Linked DNA regions of Homo sapiens: region 1 is linked to region 2. Evidence: promoter capture Hi-C in 16 types of primary human blood cells and fetal thymus (Javierre and others, 2016). All regions are on one chromosome and are shown on one strand. Each heading gives the region's core, a stretch centred on a gene start or on the middle of the fragment in contact. The rest is flanking DNA. Distances are from core to core; before and after follow the strand shown.

Region 1 (7,267 bases), core at 4,174-6,673, 1.4 Mb before region 2:
AATAGTTGAAGAAGTAGGACAGAAAGAAGTGTGTATTTTCTGTCTGGTTTTAAATGTAATTCAACAGGTAGACATTGGATTTCAACATTTTTAAAAAGGTCTCTTGTTTATCCTTGTTTTAAAGATATTTGAAACTACATGCTGTTTTTTCATACATGTATTTTGTGATCATGTACTATGTTAAGCAGGAGAAAAGGAACCTTTTCTAATGTATTTTTTTATATATAGAATACACTGTTGAAACACTATTAAAATGATTATAGAACATTTCAGTGGCCTTTGGATATATTTAAATTCTTCTAAGTGTCTAGTATAAGCACTATGAGATTAAGGACTGGGCCTGTTTTAACATTATTTTATAAAAACTTATTTTCCTTTTATTATTCAAGTTATGGTTATCTACCATCCAAACTATTCATGACAAATGAAACACTAACCCCAAAGAGGGAAAGCAGAACAAATTAAAATGTACCATTTTCTTGATGAAAGAAGATGTTATGTCCAAATTCTGGACATAATAAAAGGAGAACCGGGCCGTTTGTGGCTCACGCCTGTAATCCTAACACTTTAGGAGGCTGAGGCGGGCGGATCACCTGAGGTCAGGAGTTCGAGAACAGCCTGGCCAACATGGTGAAACTCATCTCTATTAAAAATACAAAAATTAGCCTGGTGTGGTTGTGCATGCCTGTAATCTCAGCTACTCAGGAGGCTGAGGCTGGAAAATCGCTTGAACCCAGGAGACAGAGGCTGCAGTGAGCCGAGATCATGCCATTGTGCTCCAGTCTGGATGACAAGAGCGAAACTCTGTCTCAAAAAGAAAAAAAAAGGAGAACCAAATGGGTTTTCTTCATTACATAAATCTGAATACGACTGGCCAAAAATAAAAGCAAAAGTGAAAAAAGCACTGACTGGAAATTTTAGCCCCAAGTCTTCCTTTAAACTTAATATTGATGATTTCAAAGTTTAGAAGAGTTACATACAAATATTCTTGAACTATAACAATTTCAAATTGATACAATTAAGTAAAATATATTTTGTATTTTAAGTTTTACCACAGAGAATCAAAGGCAATCAATTAAAGATAAAATTGTATTTTAGTAACTTAAAAATACAACTTCCAGGAGCAGATGAGAAAGAAAAACATCAATTAATTGTTTTGATTTTCAAAATAACTTAATTATATTAATTAGAGATATAACAAAGGCCTGCTCCAAAGGAGGAGAAAGTTCTTAGAACATATTGGTTGTTTTGCACCAAGGTCAACTTTATTTTGAACATAAAAAACTTACATTCTTTCTCTTACCACAAAAGCTGAAGTAAATATGTTCTAGCCCTCAAATGTGACTATTGGTGTTTTGGGGATAAAGGGAACTTTGCCCCCTTATTGATGGCTTCTTGTTTCTTTACAATAATCCCATTCAGGGAAATAAAAGGCACATTTGTTTTACTGATTCCATCTAAGCATATTATACAAGGCGAGATGGCAGTCCGAAAATCTATACTTAAATTATTGGAATGGAAGAGGACTGAGTGATCCCTTATAGAACACACAGAGGTCAGGCTTACACCCCAGTTGGTCCTCATCATGATCTGGAATAAGAGCATCAGTGATTTGGGGGACATGAATAGAGCTGGGTTATGGGAAAGCTACTCTAGATGTGACATTCCATTTTCCGTGTGTGCATGTAAATAAATTAAATATATAGGATTGTCAATCCTCAGTGATACAGTTAAGAGTACTGAAGACTCAAAGGTGGAAAATAAAATGGTAAAATGGTGAAGCAAAACAGAAATGGCAAATAAGACAACTAAATTGTGCTGGCCATTATTTAACATGCCATTACATCATACGTATTTTTAAAGCCAGGAATTTATGAAATTTAGTGTAACATCATTTGGACTGTTTTATCATCAATAACTGTAAGAAACTTTTTAATTGTTCCAAACTGCATTTGTTTATTCTATAAGTTAGGAAAATGAAAACTAATAAAAAATAATAAAGAAAACGAAGCTTAGGAAATAAGAGTATTTGATTCTGAAATATATTTTCCCATCATGGGAGAGTCTCCTGAATCTGAGAATGTTGTAATATTACTCAGTCTATATTTACTGCATAATGATTATGCTGTCTTGGTAAGATAAAAATTAGATAAACATTAGGGATGTATATGAGAGGTGACAATAAAAACTGAAGTCAATGTCTTATATTCAAGGGATTTATAACTCTCTCTGGGCTAGCACAATCTGAAAAGCAGAATTAAAAGGGAAAAACTGGTAGATACCTCTTTTAACGAACACTCAACTGTAAAACCACCTGGTTTTCCTCTTTAAAGAAAGAAGAAATTGCTTCTGCCAGCTTACTGAACAGAACTTCCCTGTGATGTCTGATAACAGCCTATACTCCAATCTCTGTAAAAGTCACACTAATTATTAATACACTGGAGCAGAGTTCAGGTTCCATTTTGTCATACAGTCTTAGTGAAACTGCCTCATTATATTGTTCTATCGGTTTGTTAGTAACAAAATTCCCTTGCTATTCATATTAGAGCTGCTTTAAATTTTATTCCACATTAAATAAACTTTTTAATCAGATTTTCTTTTAGGTTATTTTATCATAGTAAAAATTTTATTTTAGGTTACAAAAACAATTTCAGGATTCATTAAATAGCAGCAAGAGAGCAAATACCACGACTTGAGCACTACAGATGAGTAAACTTCCAGAACAGTTCTGAGCACGGCTTTCAATAAAATGAACAAGTTGTTTACATAGCTGTGAGAAAGGTTATTGTTTCATTGGTTTTGCGTCCTAGTGCAGCATTCAGCATTTAGTGGGAGTCCAATCAGTGTTTACTGAATAAAACAAACTAAGTGATGAGCAGAAATCTGGAAATGTTGTGGTTTCCGAAATACTGCTGCTACGCAGACAAGTTATGACTAACATTCCCCCTTGAAGTTAAAACTGTTTGTATAAATAATTTTAAAAACAATAAAGAACCCACTATGTATCAGACATTTTACAAACAATCTTATTAAAACCCAGTCTTGGCAAGTAGGTATCTTATTTGACACTTTAGGGAAACTGAGGCTCAGAAAAGTTAAATAACGCTCAATTACACCCATGCAGAAAGTGAGGGGTCTTGGATTAAGTCCTGATCATTCGATCTTTCTACAGTACACTCACAGACCTGTGGGCAATGTTTTATATAATTATTCCTTGAAATTACGGTAAAAAATCAAATCCACTCTCGGGCTTGGCCGGGAAGTGTATATTTCTTTACTGGCATAAAAAAAAAATTAAAAAACCAACAAGGAAAAGAAAAGAAAAGATGTATTTCTTCTTGCCTGACTAGAACATATGCTTGTATTTTAAGAGTACCAAAGGTGACAGACTGAATTTACAGCTACAGCATAGTCATGTTTAGCTCGCCTGGAAACAGAACTACCCTGATCTCTCAGCAAAAGGAACAGAGGGTGCTTCCCCATACAGAAGACAGAGTCAGGCCAACTCTAAAGAGAACTAGGGCATTGCCTAGGAACCCATCTGTGGCAAGGGGGTACCACTGCCAGGAGGCCCCACAAACACCTCTGGAATTAAGACGGAAAGTCACTTCCATGTCTTCTGTGTTGCTTCTGATGTTTAGAAACAAAAAGTATTGACACTAGTTCAGAAAAATGAGCCTATCTTTATTAGCATAAAGACTCTCAGATTACGAGGATTTAAAAAAAAATGACCCCGCCTCTGAACCGTGAAGAACTAGGGAAATCTGAGTAAAATACAAAAAGGATCTTGAGAGGGCAAGATCCCGAAGAAGGGTGCAGAAAATTCTGCCCATATTTGACTCTCTTTTTCCCCTTACCTTATTCATCAATTTGGAAGTTGTTTCAGAGGCTGAGAAGTTACACAGATAATGGCAACTAAGAAGCAGAGAAGCTGAGAAGAGATTGCTTTCAGGAGTCCACTGATTGAGAAAATAAAAATGCGAGTTCAGGGCCCACGAAAGAGGGAAGGCCTAACACCTCGGCTTTTAGCTGGGACACAGAAAGGGTCACCTCAGGAGTAAGAAAGAACCTGAAATAGACGAGACCTAACAAAGTCTAAAAACCAGTTTGAAATAATCTCACTTCCATATTAGATTAAGGTGCTCTGCCCTTAGCCTAGCTTCCTAATAGAAGCAAAAGTAAATCCTACAAATACTTCCATAAAGTAAAAAACACCACTCAGAGCCCAGTATTTTTTTTTTTTTCATAAACAAAGACAACATTTCATAAAGAATTTCTGGGCATACCAGGAAACAGAAGAAAAAGATAATGGAAACAAGATCCACAGATGATCCAAATACTGGAGTTAATGGGCACAAACTATTTAATTTTTTTTTTTTTTTTGAGACGGAGTCTGGCTCTGTGACCCAGGCTGGAGTGCAGTGTTATAATCTCGGCTCACTGCAAGCTCCGCCTCCCGGGTTCACACCATTCTCCTGCCTCAGCCTCCTGAGTAGCTGGGACTACAGGTGCCTGCCACCATGCCGGACTAATTTTTTGTATATTTAGTAGAGACGGGGTTTCACCGTGTTTGCCAGGATGGTCTCAATCTCCTGACCTTGTGATCCGCCCACCTCTGCCTCCCAAAGTGCTGGGATTATAGGCGTGAGCCACTGCGCCCGGCCTTGCATTTATTAATACTAGAGACGTAGAATCTATGCATAAGAAAATTCTAGAACTAAAATAAAATGATTCAACAACTGAAAACTTAAACTAAAAAAATACACTTAGAATAAAAACCATGAAATGTGTTGGAAGAAACTTAACAATGTATGTGCAATACCTGTATGCTGAAAATTACAAACAGAAATTAAAGATCAAAATAAAAGGAGATATATGCCATGTTCATAGATTGGAAAACTCAGTATTTTTAAGATGTCAGTTCTCTCCAAGCTGATGAATAAATTTAACAGAATCCCATTCAAAATCCCAGCAGATGTTTTTAGAAATTGAAATGACAATTTAAAAATTTATATTAAAATGCAAAGGACTTAGAATGGCCAAAGTAATTTTGAGGAAAAAAATACTTCCACTATCTGATTTCAAGACGTATAAAGCTACAGTAATCAATACAGTGTGGGACTGGGTTAAGAACAGACATATTTATCAATGAAATTGAATAGAATAGAAATTCAGAAGATCGGCAGATTTTTAATAAAGGTGCCAAGGTAATTCAATGAAGGATAATCTTTTTAACGAATGCTACCAGAATAACAGGATTTCTATTTTGAAAAATATGACTATCAACCATTATTGTGCCATACTAAAAATTAAGTGGATCGTAAACATAAATAAGATATATTGTGAATCTCAGAAATGAGAGGATTTTATGAACAGCTTTATGCTAATGAATATTTGGATACGTACAAATCCCTACAAATATACAACTTACAAACAAAAGCTGCTCTTTAAAAGACACTTTTAAGAAAATGAAAAAGCAGGCCACAGACTGGGAGAAAAATATTCACAACATATACTTCTGACAAAAAAGTCATACGCATAGTATGTAAATAACTCCTACAACTCAATTACAAACAACTTAGTTTTAAAATGGGCAAAAGTTTTGAACATATACCCACTTAATGGCTAAAACTAAAAACTAAAAATAGCAAGTGTTGGCATTTGATAAAAAGACCTGTCACCCTTTTAAACTATAGTAGTTCCCCCTTAGCTTCAGGGGAAATGTTCCAAGAACCTAGTGGATGCCTGAACCTCAGAGAGTACCCTACCCTAAATATATTATGCACGAATTTCTTTTTCTTTCTTCATAATTTCACAGATAGAAGACTGATTCTTACCAACCACTTGGTTCCTAGTGACCTTAGGTGATTCCTTAAGTCGAGAACTTTCACCTTCCACTTAAAGGAAGCACATTAAGGCTTCTTTTGGCATATCCAAATTGCCAGTATCACTACTATTGGGCCTTGGAGACATTATTAAGGAAAATATAGGTTATTTGAATCCAAGCTCAGTGATATGGTGATAGTTGATAACTGTGATAGTGGATGCTGAACAAAGGGAGGATACACGTTCTGGGAGGCACAGAGAGAGGCAGCATGAGATTTCATCACACTACTTAGAACTTCTAGCAATTTAAAATTTATATTTCTGAAATTTTCCATTAAATATTTTTGGACCTCGGTTGACAGTTGGTAACTGAAACTATGGAAAGCAATACCATGTATAAAGGGGGTTCCTATACAAGGATGTTTGATGAGTGCAGACACAAATAGATTCGATGGTGGGAATACACAAAAATTCTTGGCTTATGCTCACAATTCTTTTTTCAATAAAGTGTGAGGCAAAGTCATTAGTTGAGGAAGTTGATAATTTGAGGAAGGAAAAGAATGAGATATTTGGATTACAGAAGGAAAGGGCAAAGTCAGTAAAGCAAAGGAGTAGGAGAGCTGATCAATATGCAGAGCCAATTTAGGTGTGAGATCACACTAGTCCACCCAACAGTTAACAGGCTGAGCCCAAGCTCAGAAAAGATAAATGCATGCAGGAGTTCATCCATGGTTTGAGTTTTGCCAGGGAAGTGCTAAAAGTGAGGGATAAGAGTTGAGGATATTTGCAAAGGAGTCAATGCCACTATTTCTGAATATATGTGTACTCTTTGAACTGTGAAGGGCTATGTTACTGTAACTTTATAGTATAATGGTAGCAAAATGAAGCAATCCCTCAATTTAAGGTTGGTTATATACGATGTAGAGAAAGATGGGAAAGTCGAAAAAAAAAAGTAAGCAACTAAATGGGATATAGCCAAAGCTGAAGTATGCAATGATGAAATAAACTGATTCCATATTCCACACATTTGATTTTAGGGTCTAAAAGCTATTTTGCAATCTTCCAGATCACTCTTTGAAGACCTATTACAGCTTCAGCTCTGACCTCTTTCACGTGTTTTCTAGTATCTTCCAACATTTTCCCCTTTTCTTCCCCTTTGGATATCCTGCCTCCTTCTTGCCCTATTTCTGACCAATCTTGAATGATATTGCAATATCCCCCTAACTTCTACATAAACAGGTGCCATAGTACTCCTCACGTCACAGCAGCGTTTTTTCCAGTACCAACTACCCAGACTATCAAACGGTTTTAGCAAAAAACAATGAAATACACTTATTTGGCAATTTCGGACAATCTTTCTTATATCCTCCGGCCCACTGCTGTTTCTTTCAAAATATCTACTTAAAAGCCTGTATTCCTTTCCCTCTGGCTTTTACAAGGA
Region 2 (6,391 bases), core at 3,189-5,688:
TTTATGTACGTGTGTGTAATTAAAGCAGATCTTATAAAATGGTACTTACCCTTACAAAATAGATTTTGAAATTTCTCATTATGTGTGTTTCTATTCATTTCATTTAAAAAAAACCCTGTTGGTTGCAACCCACTAAATCAATTTCATGACTCCCTATTAGGATGGGACCCACAGTTTGAAAAACGTGAATTGATTCAAGCAGAGTGATACTGGTGACTGCTGAGCTGTTTTCATCCTGTTCAATCAACATTTGAATGGAGGTATAGAAGGAATGCTCCCAAATTTACACATAGACTAATAAGACAATAAATTATTTGCATGATATAATCAGGATTAAGAAATTCCTAGCAGATGAAATTTAATGGATAATTAAATAGAAAATTTGTATTAAATAATCTTTTTTTTTTGTTTTGAAACAGAGTCTTGGTTTCTTGCCCAGGCTAGAGTGCAGTGGCATGATCTCTGCTCACTGCAACTTCTGCTTCCCGGGTTCAACTGATCCTCCTGCCTCAGCCTCCTGAGTAGCTGGAATTACAGGTGGCCACCACCACACCTGGCTAGTTTTTGTATTTTTAGTAGAGATGGGGTTTCACCGTGTTTTCCAGGCTGATCTTCAACACCTGACCTCAAGTGACCCACCTGCCTTGGCCTCCCGAAGTGTTGGGATTACAAGCATGGACCACCATGCCTGGCCTTAAAATAAAATTTAAATTTAAATTGATATGTTCAATTTTGTACTTATATCTCAAAATCTACATGTAAAGCTACAAATTGTAGATATGCTGCTGCTAAAAAAACAGTAATAACAAAAGAAAACGCCTTAGTTTTTCAGGTCGATAATTATTTCATGCAGAAGCTATTGTGATTAATAAAGTAAAACTCTTTATTAATCCTAATTAATCCTGATGGTCTAATCTGTCCATCAAGATGGACCTTTACGAAGATTACCCATGTAAGGATGGACTGGAGAAGAGTGAGTGTGGAAAAGAGGAGACCAGGTATGAAGTGACTGGGATCTGAATCAGGGTGGCTGCAGTGAGGATGAAAAAAGTGGGATGAATGCGAGACCTATTACCAGGAAGAATGGGCAGATCTGTAACTAATTTAATGGTGATAATAATTTCAATATGAGAGGAGAATGGAACCAAAATTATTTGAGAACCTACTACGTGCCAAATGTGAATCATTACTACATTACACGAATCATTAGTGTCATGTTAAGAAAAAAATCCAAAACCAAAACAAACCAAACAGATCTAATTTGATTTGGGGCAACATTAACAGGAGCTATATTGCTAAAGGTTGAGGGTGAGGTAAGAATTTCCCTCTGTTTTATACAGGTCTAAACCCACATTGAATTTGGAGTATTCTGTTCAGATAAAGTTTAGAGGAAAGCAAGAAATGTGTTCTTTAAAGAACAGGTGAAGGAAACGGGAATAGTGTGGAGAACGGCTGTTTCCATCCATTCATTTTTGAACATATTTATTCAATGTAAATTATGTCAGGCAAGGTAGGTGCAAAAAAAAAAAAAACCCAAAAATAATGACACAAAATAACTGTGGGTATTTTCCGGCAGCCAATGAAGGGAAACATTATTGATTGCCACTTACTACTACATTAAGTACGTTAAATGTATTAGCTCCTTTAATCCTATAAAGTAGTATTATCATCCTTACTTTGGGTTGAGTAAACTGAAGCTTTGAAGCTAAAGTCATTTTCCCAACATCACACATATAAGTGGTGGTGGAACTAGAATCTAAATCCAGCTTCCATTGAATCTGGGGCATGACTTCTCAACCTCTCTGCAATATTGCTTCCTGAAACTCAGATTCACAGGTTTCTTATCTTTGAATGATTGTCCTTAGGAAGTATGGGTATGCAAAAATGCATACAAAATTAATATTCACCACATAAAATATATTTTTTAATCTGGAGATTTAAAAATATACATATTGGGTATCTTCTATTATTATGTAGCTTTTCTTTCAAAATATTGTTAATGTAAATGTAAAGTTATTTGCACATTTTCCGGGAAAAGGTTTTGTAGGCCAAAAAGAAATAGACCTGTTGACTTTTCTGAACTTTATGCTTTTGGGATGGTATGGAAGACATATAACTGTGCAATTATGCAGACTTGTATGTGGTTATAATTGGTATTACATGTGTTTATAGGTCATGCAACACACATGCCTGTATACTAAGGACACAAAGACACATTGACTATATGCTAGCTGCTCAGCTGAAATTATTTTATGGAATTCTTACTTCCCTATGAAACACATATTATCATTCCTACTTAAGGAACCAGGAGACTGAAACTCAAATAGCTTGAGTAGACTGCAAAGGTAGTAAGTTGTAACTATGACTCAAAGAATCATGCACTTTCCACAGTATCATAGCGCCTGCGAGGAGCTGATTGTCTACTGGAGAAAGATTTTTAATTGGTAAGCTCTTTTAAATATCTCTGAAATTGAATTAAGTAGGCAAAAGAAGTGGAGTTTTCCTACTTAGAAATGGTGATATTATCTTTACCCACTCACTATCTTCACTAAGAAAAATGAGCAGAAAAATACAACCAACTGCATATACATACTACTTAAGAAAAAATACAAGAAAAATCAAAATGGAAATGTTAAAAATGATGTTAAGCTATTCATTCAGAAAGGAAATAGAAAGTTCAGGTTGTCACTGTCTCTCAAAGTACTCATGCAAGAAGTCTAAAAATAGCAAAAGGTAGAACCTGCTGCCATATAGATATATGCACAGTGGGTAAAAAAACTTAGTGTGACAACCTTTCAGTCTAGATTTATGTATTTTACAAAGATATCATTTTAAATTTGCAAATGAAACAGTACTCTTAAAAGCAGATGATACTCACTTGGGACAGACAAAAATGTAGTAGAAGGATATAAACGTTACAGGATTTTTCAATTATATAGTATATCTCAAGTCATACTATTATGACTTGTATGTTTTGTAAATTTCCCGTACAGTTTCAAGCATTCTAGCATTTTATAATTCAATTGCCATTTAATTTAAATGGACATGCTAGTTACCACTGCTTTCAGAAGTGTTTGCTTAACTACTTTAACAATTCAATCACTTTGGTGCAAGTTTAAACAAACAGACATGCAACCAAGAATTCATCCTAAGTACTGGTTTTGAGGAACTTTTTTATAACCTGTGGTACTTAGAATTTTACCGTGTTCCCATATCCTGGGAGTTAACTTGACTGGCAGGTCCAATTAAATATGAATAATAACAAAACTGATTATGGTGGATTTGTATATTGACCTTTTTCATTTGAGAGGACAATTAAAACGATCTGAATATACCTCAAGATACCTAATATTTCTGGTGACTTGCAATAATCTTTATTGAAAAGGGAAGACCTCATGAAATATTAAAGAAAATTATATCATTCCTTTCAAGGAACAGTCATGCCTATTTAGTTTTAATTCAATACTAACAGCAAGATTACTGTGTACATTTTAATTTTTAAAAATTAAAGGTTTATTTTTTGTCTCGTATCTGTGCAGACATAGATATGTACTTTTCTCACAGACAAGGCTGGCAGTGAGAATCACCCATGTTTTTAGATAATTTCGAAAGTCCTCTGAATTGTACGTGCCTGTGAAAAAAGGAAACATTAATAATTGGCATCATACCTGAGGATTGTCAGGATTTTGAAAGTGTGGGATTTGTCGTTCCCACCAAACTACCCCACAGTGTCACACACTGCAGTCTTTTTAGGCTGGGAGGCGAGTTCAAGAGCTGTTTGTTGTTCCGAGCTTGATCCAGAGAGGATCACTGTTTGACAAGTTCTATTTTAAGTCGTGCCTGAGTGTGCAGGTGTCAGCCTCTTTCATGGCTGTAGAAAAAGCACCATTACACTCCGTCTGTATTCTTCCCCCGACAATGCAGGATCGCCCCCCCGCCCCCCCGCGCGTTTGTTTCTGCTTTGCCAGCCACTTTTTCTTTGGGAAATTCTAGGGAGGGCAGGCGGACAGGACTGCGAGGAAGGGCGAGGAGGGGCAGAAAGAGGTCGTCTGCCACTCCCCTACCTTACAAGGCACGTGGCACTGGCAGTAGCAGCAGCTGGATGCAACAACTGAGATGAGGAACCTCCTCCCAGCAAGAGGATATTGAGAGAAGGAGGAGGTGGCAGCGAAGGCAAGACATGCACACTGTGTCCTTCCCCAAAGGGAGAATCCGCCCTCAAGGGAAAAACCACAAGGAAGCCACTACCCGCCCCGCCTCTGCCAGCTTGCCCCAGTGTCTGGCAGCAGTCCCCATGCACCTGCTCACCTGTCTATCCGTTCGGGGTGGTTGGGGGAGGGACGAGGGGTGTCGGGGTGGGTGGGTGGGAAGAGAAGGAGGGCAGGGCAAAAGAGGGGGTGCACCGAGGGCTCCGCCCCCCCGGAGGCTGTGCGCAGGCGCAGTGGCTGCTACCGCAGGCAGGGGGCGGCAACATGGCGGAGTGAGCGGCGGCGTCGGGGCTTCACAACAACAGTGGTGGCCGTAGCAGCGGCGGCAGCAGCGTCAATAGCATCGGCCACAGCCTGAGCTTCAGCACCGGCCAGCGTCGTGGCCAGCTGCTCGCGTCCTCGGGCTTCTCGGAGCGGCTGCAGCATCTCCGCGGGGGGCGGGCCGGGCCGGACAGACCGGGAGAGGGAGAGAGCAGAGGCAGCGGCGGCGGCAGCGGCAGCGGCAGCGGCACACCTGCTGGGCGGGCACAGCCGCTTGCCCGGCAGCGGTTAGCGGTACCGCCACCGCCGAGAATAAGCCTGCGGATCCCCCGCCGCCTCCGCGGGGGAGAGCGCCGGAGCGGGCCGGGCTGAGGCGCAGGCGGGGAGCGGGCCCGGCGCCGCGGCGCTGGTGGATGCTGGGGCTCCGAGGCGACGGCCGGGGGGCGGGGGCCGAGGCAGGTATAACGGTACCGGCGGCGGCAGCGCCGCTGCTCTTCCCTTCTCCTCAGGAGGGGGGCCAATGGCTAGCGAGAAGCCGGGCCCGGGCCCGGGGCTCGAGCCTCAGCCCGTGGGGCTCATTGCCGTCGGGGCCGCTGGCGGAGGCGGCGGGGGCAGCGGTGGTGGCGGCACCGGGGGCAGCGGGATGGGGGAGCTAAGGGGGGCGTCCGGCTCCGGCTCGGTGATGCTCCCCGCGGGGATGATTAACCCTTCGGTGCCGATCCGCAACATCCGGATGAAATTCGCAGTGTTGATTGGACTCATACAGGTCGGAGAGGTCAGCAACAGGGACATCGTGGAGACGGTGCTCAACCTGGTAAGGAAAAGGCGTGCTCTCAATCTGCTTCCCCAGTCCCCACATACACCGTCCCCAGCGCCTTTCCCTCCCACCCTTCACCCCCAGGGTCACACGCGCCGCGCGTCCCTGGGAGCGCAGAGCGTTCAGCCGGTATTGCCCAGCGGGTGACCTGCCTGCGCGCTGCTAGAGCCACGCCACCTCCCTCCTCTCCTCTTTCTGGTCCTCTCCTGCCACCTGAGCGCAGTGCCCAACTTAACACCGCTTCTTCTCACTTTTTAGGACCGCGAGTAACCCAGTACCCGCGGTGAAGGTTTTGGGTCGACTTTAGAGTTTAGTTAGGAGGTGAGGAGGCCTCCTGTTCTCTGGGGTTCTTTTTCTCACACTTAATTGTCCTTGGTGTCGCTCTCCGAGGATGACAGCCTTGCCCCTGGAGCCTAAATTCCCCCGTGCTGCTGAAATGTGAGAAGCGCATTAGCTTCCAACTTGAGCAGCTGGGGTGTGATGTTTTCGAAGGAGACAGAAAATGATGCAGTTTTGCATCTGTCTTTAAATATTCCAAGGCCATGATGGAGAGTGTTGTGTCTGTATCCATCCCCCTCCATCTCAGAAGCAGCCGTCCCTTCTTTGTAATATTGCCCTGAATATACTGATCTCTTAGTCATTTTTTGTGCACACAAGGTGTGTGAGGACACCAAATCACACAGGTTGATTTCTGTGGTTACTTTCAGTAGTGTGGCATGTGGGTAAAGACTAAAGGAAAGGTTTTAAACGCAGCCCTAGGTTTTGGTTCCTTTCATGGTAAGAAAGAGTTACTGCAGAAGTGTGTATGACTTAATGTTTTGCGCTATCTACAGAGAGGCTCAGAAGCGTTTAAGATGTCAGGGAAAGAAATGGAAAGAAGGAGAGGAGAATCATACATTGAGGATAATTAACAGTAGTTCATATTTAGTGCTTTGTAAATGGAGGTTTTGTTTTGTTTTGTTTTGTTTTTAAATGCAGCCAAGCTTTTTAAACAGTTTTCTCTGCAATAGATCTAGTCTTTGACATACTGTAAGGTTGGGCTTTGGGAGGCAAGACATAAATCGAGAGCAATCAGTTGAGTATTGTATTTGGTGTGGGGTCACAG

Evidence for each region. The method cuts DNA at HindIII sites, captures the fragments that hold promoters and counts their contacts. A CHiCAGO score of 5 or more calls a contact.
Region 1: a fragment that was not itself captured here is called in contact with the fragment with the promoter of NBEA in region 2 in 1 of 17 cell types (total B cells); the score reaches 6.5 in total B cells.

Annotation. Positions count from the first base shown.
Region 1 is chr13:33,534,405-33,541,671 of GRCh38, forward strand. It overlaps a transcript of STARD13 not described here. Among named protein-coding and RNA genes, the nearest start is that of LINC02344, 200 kb to the left of the region's middle. The HindIII fragment of the contact is 6,829 bases long and covers 2,010-7,267 here.
Region 2 is chr13:34,937,832-34,944,222 of GRCh38, forward strand. NBEA (neurobeachin) reads left to right here and starts at 4,439. Exons shown (of 59, transcript NM_001385012.1): 1 at 4,439-5,283. The coding sequence starts at 4,990. LOC124903231 (a long non-coding RNA gene) reads right to left here and starts at 4,359. Exons shown (of 2, transcript XR_007063908.1): 1 at 4,309-4,359; 2 at 3,490-3,871. RefSeq lists an enhancer at 4,021-4,130 and silencers at 4,301-4,370, 4,811-4,930, 5,990-6,079. The HindIII fragment of the contact is 4,572 bases long and covers 1,696-6,267 here.